Linked DNA regions of Homo sapiens: region 2 is linked to region 1. Evidence: promoter capture Hi-C in 16 types of primary human blood cells and fetal thymus (Javierre and others, 2016). All regions are on one chromosome and are shown on one strand. The core of a region is centred on a gene start or on the middle of the fragment in contact, and the rest is flanking DNA. Distances in the headings are between cores, read along the strand shown. Region 1 holds the start of MIGA1 (mitoguardin 1). Region 2 overlaps MSH4 (mutS homolog 4).

The links. The method cuts DNA at HindIII sites, captures the fragments that hold promoters and counts their contacts. A CHiCAGO score of 5 or more calls a contact.
Region 2: a contact is called between a fragment that was not itself captured here and the fragment with the promoter of MIGA1 in region 1, in 1 of 17 cell types (non-activated CD4 T cells). The highest score is 5.2, in non-activated CD4 T cells.

The regions. Positions count from the first base shown.
Region 1 is chr1:77,775,888-77,781,983 of GRCh38, reverse strand. It overlaps MIGA1 (mitoguardin 1), which reads right to left and starts at 2,335. Exons shown (of 16, transcript NM_001416120.1): 1 at 2,248-2,335. It also overlaps the pseudogene RNA5SP21. RefSeq lists enhancers at 2,359-2,448, 5,823-6,096. The HindIII fragment of the contact is 6,952 bases long and covers 1-5,549 here.
Region 2 is chr1:75,800,111-75,806,541 of GRCh38, reverse strand. MSH4 (mutS homolog 4) reads right to left here. Exons shown (of 20, transcript NM_002440.4): 2 at 2,629-2,811. Among named protein-coding and RNA genes, the nearest start is that of MSH4, 6.4 kb to the right of the region's middle. The HindIII fragment of the contact is 2,941 bases long and covers 1,267-4,207 here.

The DNA.
Region 1 (6,096 bases), core at 1,086-3,585:
GCTACACTTTTTTAGGCCCTTCATTTCTGCATACATTTCTATGTTCTCTTTTTCTATACTCCAATAGACTATCCCCTTCTGTTAATACCCACCTGTTTTCAGACAAGTGTCAAAACCACTGATTAAGTAGTGGTTTCCTTTAAAATCAAACACAGCAATACCTCTTAGGGTGGGTTACTACTACTGATGCTTCCCTTAATCCTTACTAGGGATACAGCAGTATAAACTTAATCCCCCCTACCAGTGTTCTAAGTACAACTTTTAGATTCAGTATAGTTAGTTCTACTTGACATACATTTATTTCAGTCAACAACCTGTGATAGAGACATATGATTAAAAAGTACAGAGGAAACCATGAACAGTTAAGAAAGTGAAAAATGGTCCTCTGGAGAATAAGACAAGGGATATAGAAAAGCTGGGCAAAGAATGACTGCTTTTCCTTATAAGTCTGTTTGTAATACTTGATTTTTAAAAACCTGCCTACATGTATTACTTTTTTAATATTACTACAGTAAAAAGGAAGTGGGGGGAAGCTCATTTATTCTTCCCCCTCCCTAAATATTAACACATTTTATTTTGAGAAACATTTTTACTAATTAGATTCTGGATCATTAAGCAATCTATGCTACTGCATTTAAAAAACGTATTGAGTAATTCACCCAAAGTAATTTTCCCTATAATGGAGCATTCCAAATTTTTAAGCAGAATAGAAAGAAAATAAAGCAAACACTTTAATTGGCTGCAGAGATATTCTTAAAAGATTATGACAAACCTCGGCCAGGCGTGGTGGCTCACGCCTGTAATCCCAGCATTTTGGGAGGCCGAGGTGGGTGGATCAGTTGAGGTCAAGAGTTCAAGACCAGCCTGGCCAATATAGCGAAACCCCATCTCTACTACAAATACAAAAAAATTAGCCAGGAGTGATGTCGGGCGCCTGTAATCCCAGCTACTCGGAAGGCTGAGGTAGGAGAACTTCTAGAACCCTAGGGGCGGAGGTTGCAGTGAGCAGAGATCACGCCATTGCACTCCAGCCTGGGCGACAGAGCCAGACTCCGCCTCAAAAAAAAAAAAAAAAGAAAAAAGAAAAAATATTATGACAAACCTCTATTTTTGCATTCTAACTACCTCATTCTTTTTCATTTAATATTACTGAGGAAGTTGATTCCAAACCTAATCATTATTCATTGAAAAACTAAAGAAAAAAAAACAAAAAACTAGTCATTTCATTTGCTTTCAGAAGCATAATAAAAATAAACATGAAGGGGGTTTCATGATTATTCAAATTTATAGACGGAATCTATAAAACATAACCAAAAATATTGTCCTGTGTGATATTACTTGCTCCTCTACATTCCAACTACTGGGGAATTAAAAATAAGTGTCATAAACAGTTTCTTAGACATCTTAAAATTCTATCCTGCAACTTTGACTTTATAATCCAACAGGAAGGAAAGTCTGAAGTATCAAAAAGAAAATTGACGTGAAGCACAAATCTATATAACCTAACTCTGACACTTTGAACAGAGCAAACATGTTTAGCTGCAATAACAACAACAATAAAACAACAATAATAAAGGTTTCAAAGTCCTGTGCAAAAACAAGCTGAGTCTTCCCTCTGGAAAATAGATAATTTAACAACTTTACAGAAGGACCTGACACCACAATACTCCCGTGCTAAATTATTCTCTTAAAGCACCTGCAAAGCAGAGTAATCTTTCACATCCAAAAGCCACTCCCTGCTCAAAACCACCCGCATCCAAGCCGAACCTGAGACCTCACCAGCTGCCCTACCTCCAGCGCGCTCTCCCCCGACCCCACAGCAGCCCCTCGCGGAGCTCTCCTCTGCTGTCTTCCTTTTTCTTTGCCAAGAACACCAGAAAAGGGGGTCCCTCCAGCTCGGCCGTCCAGACCCTTCCTCTGGCTCAGAGCAGTGGCGAGCCCATCCCAATTCCGCGCTTCCTTTGCAGGCCTCCCTCTGGCGTGGGGACCCTCCTGCTTTCCTATGCAAGTACTAACCAGGCCCGACCCTGCTTAGCTTCTGAGATGAGACGAGGTCGGGGGTGTTCAGGGTGGCACGGCCGTAGACCCTCTGGCTTTCCGCCGCTCCACCTGGCACTCCGAGAGCTAACGCCAGCGATGGAGTCCGCGCCACCCCTGCCCCGAGGCCTCTGCCCCAACTGCGTGGCCGCTCAACTCTCCGCTTCCTCCCGCCCGCCTCTCCACCCCACCCCGCCCCTGGCCCTGTACCTGGAGCTCCAGGCCAGGTACAGCTGGCCTGCCCACGCCAGCTTCCCAGCTGATGCCTGGCGCTGAGCAGCAGTCTGACATGGAGAAGGCGGAGTCCTTCCGGGGTCAGGAGTGCGAAGGTGGAGAGAAAGTGGAGGGGGCCTTCCAGGCTTTCTGCGTGAGGGACTACGTGTGAAGCAGCTCCCGCCATTTTTGTTTAGGGTAGAGGCTCCTTCCTCGTCAAGTGGATGCAAAAACTATATTCGAAGAATTGCATCCTTTTACAAACCGGTAAAAAAAAAAAAAAAAAACTAGTATTGTAGTTCGTAACCTGTCGGGGGATCTAGAACGGTTGTCAATCTGGTAAAAATTATGGAGGGTTTCCCCTGGAAAAAAAAAAATGTGTATACACATGCTCATTACATTAAAGAAAAAAAAGTTACACAATTTCAAAACCCTGAAAACAAGATTAAGAACTTCTACCACAGGCCCTCAGCCCTCAGATGAATGAGTGTTAAGAGGCATTCCAATCCGGTATAGATGATGCATTTATTATTGATTTCATGTCCTCTTTACCTTTTTTTCTGTGTTTCCCACTGAATTAGGCAACCGAAGAATATTGAATGTGGCAATTTATTGGCAGAGTAGTCACCTCTCTCAGGTTCTAATACATAGTAAACTAATAGGGGGCCGGGTTAGGAAAAAATAACAACAACAAAACCCAAGGTACTGTTTCTACGTTCAGTCTTCAGTCAAAACATTCCATCAGAACTGCAGATTTAGGCGGGGCACGGTGGCTGAAGCCTGTAATCCCAGCACTTTGGCGGGCCAAGGCGGGCAGATCACTTGAGGTCAGGAGTTCAAGACCAGCCTGGCCAACATGGCGAAACCCCATCTCTACTAAAAGTACAAAAATTAGCCAGGCACCTGCCTGTAATCCCAGCTACTCGGGAGGCTGAGGCAGGAAAATCGCTTGAACCCGGGAGGCGGAGGTTGTGTGAGCCCAGATAGTGCTACTGCACCCCAACCTGGGTGACTAGAGTGAGACTCTGTCTCAAAACAAAAAACAAAACAAAACAAAACAAAACAAAAAAACTGCAGATTTAAGAATTCCAGTTGCTGAGCATATTTGTGGTGAAAAGCCAAAATAATTCTGTTTTCAAAATTCCCATTTAACCAAATGGAAAATAGAATAGTAGTACCAATTTATGATATTATTAGATTAATAATAACTAACGATCCACAGACTGGGTTTTATGTGAAAATATTTTGCACTTATAGGGTAAATGGAGCTCTTGAGACTTGAAGAACCTGAAATTTGTAAGGCTATTTTCATTTATTTTCCCAATTTCCTCCTCTTTCCCATTTCCCACAGCTTCCAAACATTCAACGTAATGAGAATAGCAGTAATGATGATGACTACCACTCAACACAACTTTCCTGAGACCATATTATCTCCTTAATTCCACAATAAACATTATGAGAAAAATAGTATTACACGGTGGGTACAGAGTTTATTCTTTAGCATGAGAATAAGATATGTCACATTTAGGCCAAGTGAGGTGGCTCACATCTGTAATCCCAACACTTTGTGGGGCCGATGAGGGAGGATCCCTTGAGGTAAGAAGTTCGAGATTAGCCTGGGCAATAGCAAGACCCTCATTTCTACAAAATAATAATAAAATATATAAAATAGAAATATCACATTTAATTTATGTTTATAAACCAAATGTAATTTGCTGTAAGCCTCCCTTCTTCTGGTTTGGCAGAGTACTGCACTCAATCTTAGCCATTATTGGATATATTAGTTAACATATTCGCTACAAGTAAAAGAAAACCAAACAAGTAGTGGTTTAAACCAGAAGGACAGGGGACTCAATGTCTTCTGATATTGGAGACAAGGAAAAAAAAATTGGAGCCTGGATTAATTCTGAAGGCCAGTACCTCCCCCAGATAACCAAGCCATCGTGTAATGCTCACTAAACCAGAGAATGGAGTTCATGGAGTACTACCAGTTGTTTCTTCTGTACAAGTACTGCAATACATGCTACAGCAACCATTAATGAATTTAGGGGATCCTATCTGCATAATATCAAAACAAAACTGTGAAGTCAGACTGCCTGGGTTTGAATCCTTTCTTGGCCACTTACTAGATGCATTGTTAAAGGAAAAGAAACACAAAGCTATTTTTCTGTAGTTTCAACACTTCTGACTCCAAATGTGTGGAGGTTTTTCCCCACCAAACAAGTCTCCAATTATTTCTTATTATAAACTCCACTCTTTAATTTAGTGTCTACCAACTGGGTGTTGTACAGTTAAATTTAATTCAATACTATGCACCAAACCCTTAAGGGCTCAGTCCTACAAGACTGCCCCCACTTCAGATACCAATTGCAAATCCCAGGTTGTCACTTGTACTTCTGACCAACCAGCTATAAATCAGGAATTCCCACAATCTTCTCCTCCCATCCCAAACCAGTCTATTGATTTATAACAGAAGATATTACAAAGGATACAGATGAACAGCCGGATGAAGAGGTACATAAAACAAGATCTGGAAGGATCCTAAGTGCAGGAACTTCTGTCCCCATGGAATCAGGGTGTATGACCTTTTTGGGATATGGATGTGTTCACCAACTCAGAAGCTCTTAGAACCCCGTACTTCAGGGATTTCTGTGGAGGCTTCATAATGTTGTTACCAGAAAGGGGTACCAATCCAGATCCCAAGAGAGGGTGCTTGGATTTCGCACAAGAAAGAATTCAGGGCAAGTCCACAGTCCAAAGCAAAAGCAAGTTTAAGACAGTGAAGTGGTGAATGTCCACTTACTCTATAGACAGAGTAGGGCGTTCCCAAAAGGAAGAAGAGGAATGCATCCACTCTAGGTACAATATTCATTTATAGAGGAGTTAAAAAAAAAAAGATCATGGGAAGATGTGCTCTGCTACGAGGGTTTGTGGTAAAAGATTAATTTTCTTAATTACCATATTTTGCAAGAATTAATATTATTATCTTTAAAGCAAAATTAGGAATGCTTTTGCTCTCAAGGTATCAGGGACATCAGGACACTCCCAAGTCTGGGTCTGTTTAGTAAACATTATCAATCTGTTCCCTTAACTGTAAATGTTTAGAAGCTAGAAATGCCTAACTTTCTGGGAATGCAGCCCAGCAAGTCCCAGCCTCATTTTCCTAGCCCGCACTCAAAACGGAGTCGCTCTGGTTTGAACCCTCTGACAATGTAACCATAATTGATTATTAACTCAATCTTCAACTACTCTCTCCTCCACAGAGGATAGGGTAGGTATGGGGCCAACATTTTTAAGCTTCTAATCATAGCTTGAATTTGCTGGTGACCAGCCCCTATCCTGAAGCTATCCAGGAGCCCAACAAGAATATTAGAAAAAAAGACACTCCTATCAACCGGGAAATTCCAAGAGATTTAGGAGCTCTGTGTCAGGACTGGGGACAGAGAGCAAATATATATCTTTTCTTTCTTTGTTTCTTTTCCTTCTGTCTGTCTCGTTTGCCTGCCTGCCTGCCCGCCCGCCTTCCTTCCTTCCTTCCTTCCTTCCTTCCTTCCTTCCTTCCTTCTTTCTTTCTTTGTCTCTTTCTCTCTTTCTTTCTTTCTTGCTTTGATACAGGATCTCACTTTATTGCCCAGGCTGCACTGAAGTAGTGTGATCATAGCTCACTGCAGCCTAGAACTCCTGGGCTCAAGTGATCTTCCTGCTTCAGTCTTCTGAGTGGCCAGGACTACAGGCACTTGCCACCATGCCCAGTTAATTTTTAAAATTTTAGTAGAGACAATGTCTCCCTATGTTGCCAGGGCCTGGTCTCAAACTCCTGGGCTCAAGTGATCCTCCCACCTCAGC
Region 2 (6,431 bases), core at 1,488-3,987, 2.0 Mb after region 1:
GGCGCGGTGGCTCATGCCTGTAATCCCAGCACTTTGGGAGGCCGAGGTGGGCGGATCACAAGGCCAGGAAATCGAGACCATCCTGGCTAACACGGTGAAACCCCATGTCTACTAAAAATACAAAAAATTAGCCAGGCGTGGTGGCAGGTGCCTGTGGTCCCAGCTACTCGAGAGGCTGAGGCAGGAGAATGGCGTGAACCCGGGAGGCGGAGCTTGCAGTGAGCCGGGATCGCGCCACTGCACTCTAGCCTGGGCTACAGAGCGAGACTCCTTCTCAAAAAAAAAAAAAAAAAAAAAAAAAAAAAACCAAACAGAAAAGTCATCAAAATATTTATTACTCAGAATATATAAAGTATTGCTACAAATCCAGAAAAATAAGCCTAAAGAAAAATGAGTAAAAGACATGAACATTAATTTCACAGACCATTATTAAAGATATATAGCCCAAAAGTACAGAAAAAGATAATCTCACTAGTAATCAGGAAAATGCAAACTCAGAAAATAAAAAACTCAGGTAGTATTTTACAACTGTTAGGTTGGAAAATATTGAGTCTAACAATATCAAATGTTGAAGTGGACTCTTACACATTGTTAATAAGAGCATACCATAATAACCAATAAATTAACCAATACAATTTATTATGATAATGATTATTGGCTAATTTAATAATAATCTTATGATGATGATGATGATTACTAAATTAGCCAATAATCATAATAAATTTTAGAAGTTAGTAATGATGAGGATAGAGTAAGATTGGCTTACCTTATACACTATTGATGGAATTAAAAATTAGTCCAGTTCTCAAAAGAAACTTGGCAATATATCTGAGATTCTTAAAAACTGGTAATTTTGGCCAGGCGCAGTGGCTCATAACTGTAATCCTAGCACTTTGTGAGGCTAAGGTGGGAGGATCACTTGTGGCCAGGAGTTCGAGACCAGCCTGGCCAACATGGCGAAACCCCATCTCTACTAAAAAAAAAAAATTGGCTGAGCATGGTGATGCATGCCTGTAATCCCAGCTACTCGGGAGGCCGAGGCAGGAGAATCACTTGAACCCAGGAAGTGGATGTTGCAATGAGCCGAGATGGTGCCACTGCACTCCAGCCTGGGCAATAGAACAAGGCTTCGTCTCAAAAACCAAAAAAAAAAAAAAACAAAAAATGGTAATTAAAAAAAATAAAAAAGGTAATTTCCCTATGTTTCAGTAATTTGACTTCTAAGGGTGTGTTTTAAGGAAATAATAAGAGACTCAGAAAAAAGCTTTATGTATTAGGATGCTCATTATTATGTTATTTACAACAGAGAGATAACAGCATAAATGTATTTTTAGAACCTTAGAGATGTCTTTTATATGTCTATTGAATTTCCACTGGAACTTGGTATTTATTTTCTACTTAAAAATAAACAGGTCAGGGCTGGGTGCGGTGGCTCACACCTGTAATCCCAGCACTTTAGGAGGCCAAGGTGGGCGGATCATGAGGTTAGGAGTTCAAGACCAGCCTGGCCAATATGGTAAAACCCTGTCTCTACTAAAAATACAAAATTAGCCAGGCGTGGTGGTGCATGCCTGTAATCTCAGCTACTCGGGAGGCTGAGGCAGGAAAATTGCTTGAATCCAGGAGGCAGAGGTTACAGTGAGCCAAGTTGTGCCACTGCATTCCAGCCTGGGCGACAGAGCAAGGCTCCATCTCAAACAAATAAAAATAAAAATAAAAGTAAATAAAAAGGTCAGCCAGGCACAGTGGCTCATGCCTGTAATCCCAGCACTTTGGGAGCCAAGGTGGGTGGATCATGAGGTCAGGAGTTCGAGACCAGCCTGGCCAGTATGGTGAAACCCCATCTCTACTAAAAATACAAAAATTAGCCGGGCGTGGTAGCAAGCACCTGTAGTCCCAGCTACTCAGGAGGCTGAGGCAGAAGAATCACTTGAACCCGGAAAGCAGACATTGCAGTGAGTCGAGATCACACCACTGCATTCCAGCCTGGGCGACACAGTGAGATTCTGTCTCAAAAAATTAAAAAAAAAAAAAAAAAAAAAGGAAGGTCATATTCTACTACAGAGCTAAAACTGACTTCTGTAGATCTAATATAAACTTAACTACCATTTATACTTTGGTAGAACTACTTTAAAAAATAATTTGTCATTATCTTATAAATATATGCATTTACATAACTTACCCTGTAACCAAGAAATTCTGTTGTATATACCTTAGAAAACTGTTATACATGAAAACCTATTTTATCTATCTACTCTTCAAGAAAATCTCATAGATTTAGATAAAAATTAAAATTTAAGTATAAAAAAACCACTCACTAGTAATATCAGGGTCAACTTTTAGATTTAAATGCCATCATGTATAAAAGGGAGAGGTTTCTCTTTCTTGTGTGTTTTTTTGTCAGAATGGTTAAAATAATGTAGACTTACATTTATTAACAAACAATTTCAGAAACTATGTTGCCTTATTAATCTAGACTCAAATTATGGATAGAGGTAAACTAATGTATTTATTTTTCATTCATATCAGTTATAGATAAATTCAAATGAACTTAATAACCCTAATTTATAATTTATAAAACTTTTAAGTTTCAAAACATCATCTAGGTTAATCTTCCACTTATTTTACCTGAATATCCCACTTGTGGTGTCCAGCTCTTATAACCTGATCTCTGAGGATTTCCAGTAGACAATGGAGTTTTAAGTGTTTGAGGATAATTAGTATCTCGTGCAGAAGATGAGCTTGCACCAAAAGTAAAATTTGATGCAACTGTGTTTTCTGCATAAGCTCTTTTGTTTCCAAAGTATGAACCTAAATTTGAAAAATTAACAGTCAATTCTTAAAGATTTGAATTATGCAATGATGTATTAGTCATTATAATTTATACCATGTTCACTTTCCTTTTTTTTCTTTTTTTCTTTTTTGAGACAGAGTCTTGCTCTTGTCGCCCAGGCTGGAGCGTAGTGGCATGATCTCGGCTCACTGCAACGTCCACCTCCCAAGTTCAAGTGATCCTCCTGCCTCAGCCTCCCGAGTAGCTGGGATTACAGGCACCCGCCACCACGCCTGGTGAATTTTTGTATTTTTAGTAGAGATGGGGTTTCACCATGTTGGCTGGGCTGGTCTCGAATTCCTGACCTCATGATCTGCCTGCCTCGGCCTCCCAAAGTGCTGGGATTAGAGGCCTGAGTCACCGCACCCAACCACTATGTTCACTTTCTATAAAATTTCATGTGAAAATGATTTTTGAAAATAAACAGATTATAACAAAATTAATGACATTATTGATAAATATACAAAAATATGCTAATATAGCTTTTGCCTCTACAAGTTCACTGCAACTACTCTGGCTAAAATCATAAATTACCCTTTAATCTTCAAATATACCAGATGTGTTGCTAAGGTATGAATATCTGTCCCCTCTGAAACTTACATTGAAATTTAATCCCCAGTGAAGTGTGGCAGGACAGAGGTGGGGCCTTTAAGAGGTGATGGGGCATGAGGGCTCTGCCTTCATGAATGAATTAATCCATTCATGATTTAATAGGTTAATGGGTTATCACGAGAGTAGGACTGGTGGTTTTATAAGAAGAGGATGAGAGACCTGAGCTACCATGCTCAGCTCCCTCTCCATGTGATGCCCTGTACCACTACAGGACTCTACAGAGACTCCACCAGCACAAAGACCCTCACTAAATGTGCCTCCTTTGACCTTGGACTTCCCAGCCTCCAGACTTCCAAGAAATATGTTTTCTTTCTTGATAATCACCCAGTTTCAAGTATTCTTTTAAAAGCAACAGAATACAGACTAAGACATATGTTTCATTTGTATAATAATTATTAGACCTCTTTTAACCTTCTTCTGTTAATTTCTTCATTGAATTTCTCTCCCCTATGCAAATGGCATTTTAGACTCAATTGGCTTCAGTTCCTTATTTAGGTACTTATCTACTGATGTAAGCTATTACCTATTTTACAGGATTGTCATAAAATTTTTAAATAATGTACATAAACAACCTAGCATAGCCTCTTGGCACATAGAAGTTCTAAAAAAATTTTAAAATGTTTGGGCTCTGTTCACCTATTCTCTTTGATTTCCACAACTCTCTATCTTGAATTCTCTTTAAACCACTTTTAGTTTCCTTTGCCATCTCCTTTTTCCTCTGCTTCTTAACTGTTGGCCTCCAGGGCTTCATACTTTTAAGCTTTCCCTCACAAATCAACATTATGCATCTCCAGGCATCTCATCTCTCCTCTTTGTTTCTATTAACATCTATTTTCTGACAACTCTCAAGCCTTCGTATATAGCTGTAACGACTCCTTAAACTGTAAACCAGGGGTTGCTAAACTTTTAATTTTTCCTTTTTGTCTGTATGTGAGACTCTCGTTCTGTAGCTTAGGCTGGAATTCAGTGGTGTGATCTTGGCTAAATGCAGCCTTGAACTCCTGGGCTCAAGCAATCCTCCTACCTCACCCTCCCGAGTAGCTGGGACTATAGGCTCATGCCACCATGCCAGGCTAATTTTTTGTATTTTTGTAGAGATGGGGTTTTGCCATGTTGCCCAGGCTGGTCTCAAACTCCTGGGCTCAAGTGATCTTCCCATCTCAGCCTCCCAAAATGCTGGGATTATAATCGGGAGCCACCATGCCCAGTCTATTTTACTGTCTTATAAAGACAAGGTCTCTCTTTGTCGCCCAGACTGGAGTGCAGTAGTGTGATCACAGCTCACTGCAGCCTCAAGCTCATGGGCTCAAGTAACCTCCTGCTTCAGCCTCTTGAGTAACTATGGACTATAGGTGCACCTCACCACACACAGCTAATTTTTTTTTTATAGAGACAGGGTCTTGCTACATTGCCCAGGCTGATCTCAAACACCTGGCCTCAAGCAATCCTCCCACTTCAGCCTCCCAAAGCACTGAGATTACAAGCATAAGCCACCATGCCTCAGCATAAACTTTTTTTTTTTTTTTTTGAGATGGAGTTTCACTCTTGTTGCCCAGGCTAGAGTGCAATGGCGCAATCTCAGCTCACTGCAGCCTCTGCCTCCCAGGTTCAAGCAATCCTCCTGCCTCAGCCTCCCAAGCAGCTGGCATTATAGGCATGCCCACCACACCTGGCTATTTTTTTTTTGTATTTTTAATAGAGACAGGGTTTTGTCATGTTGGCCAGACTGGTCATGAACTCCTGGCCTCAGGTGATCTGCCCACCTCAGCCTCCCAAAGTGCTGGGATTATAGGCATGAGCCATCATGCCCAGCCCATAAACTTTTAAATAAAGGACCAGATGGCAAATATTTTAGGCTTTTGTGGGCCATATAATCACTGTCACAATTACTCAGCTCTGACACTATCATAGAAAAGCAGTCATAGATAATACATAAATAAATGAGAATGGCTATGTTTCAATTAAAAATGGCTTTATTTCTACATATTGAATTCTAAATTTCATATAATTTTAATATCACAAAATATTCTTGATTCTTTAATCCTTCAAAAGTGCAAAAACCGTTCTCAGCTCTATACCTGCATTGTTCAATAAAGCAGCATATGTGAGTATTTAACTAAATCAAAATTAAATACAATTTAAATTCTGTTCCTCAGTCACACTAGCAACATTTTCAAATGCTCAAAAGCCACATACGGCTACTAGTTACCACATCGGACAGCATAAGTATGAAACGTTTCTATTATCACAGAATATTCTATCAGACAATGTAGCTCCAGGTCACTATATCTATCTCTTGGGCATAAACCTTTAGGTATCTTCCCAGCATTCTAAATGTCCAAAAGTGAACTCTATCTTTCCCTCAAAATTAATTCTTTATTACCAGTATGGTTAATTGTACCAGCTTGTCCCTTGTCACTCAAGTCATAAGCTTAGGAGACATTCTCAATTCTTCCTTCATCAACCCTAACACTCAGTGACTGAGTGCTAGAATTCTTTTTTTTTAACATCACTAAAATTTAAATCCCTCTCTACTCCTCCCAGCCCATTTTAAGCCTGTATCTTCTTTGGTCCTTGTGCAAGTTTCCTACTTCTTCTTCTCCTTGCTTCCAGTATTACACCTCTCTAATCTATTCTTCGAATCATCACCAATAATCTTTCTGAAAAGCAAATCTGATCAGTATCTCTCTTTCTTACAATTCCTATGTGTCTCCCCATACTCACCATAGGGTAAAATATAACTTCATTATATGGGTTCCAGCAGGAATCAATGATATACTCAAACTGGGATAATTTGATAAAGAGAATATTTACAAAGGTGTGGACAGGGTGTAGGGGTGCTATCATAAAGACGTGTGTAGAACCAGCATAAAATGTGCTCCATTAGCATTTCTAGGCTTTAGGGAGCTAAGGAAGAGAGTGGTTGCCAGAAACTGGAGATGCGGAAACTGGAGATGGAGAGGGCTGTTTCTTGTTCTCAGACTAC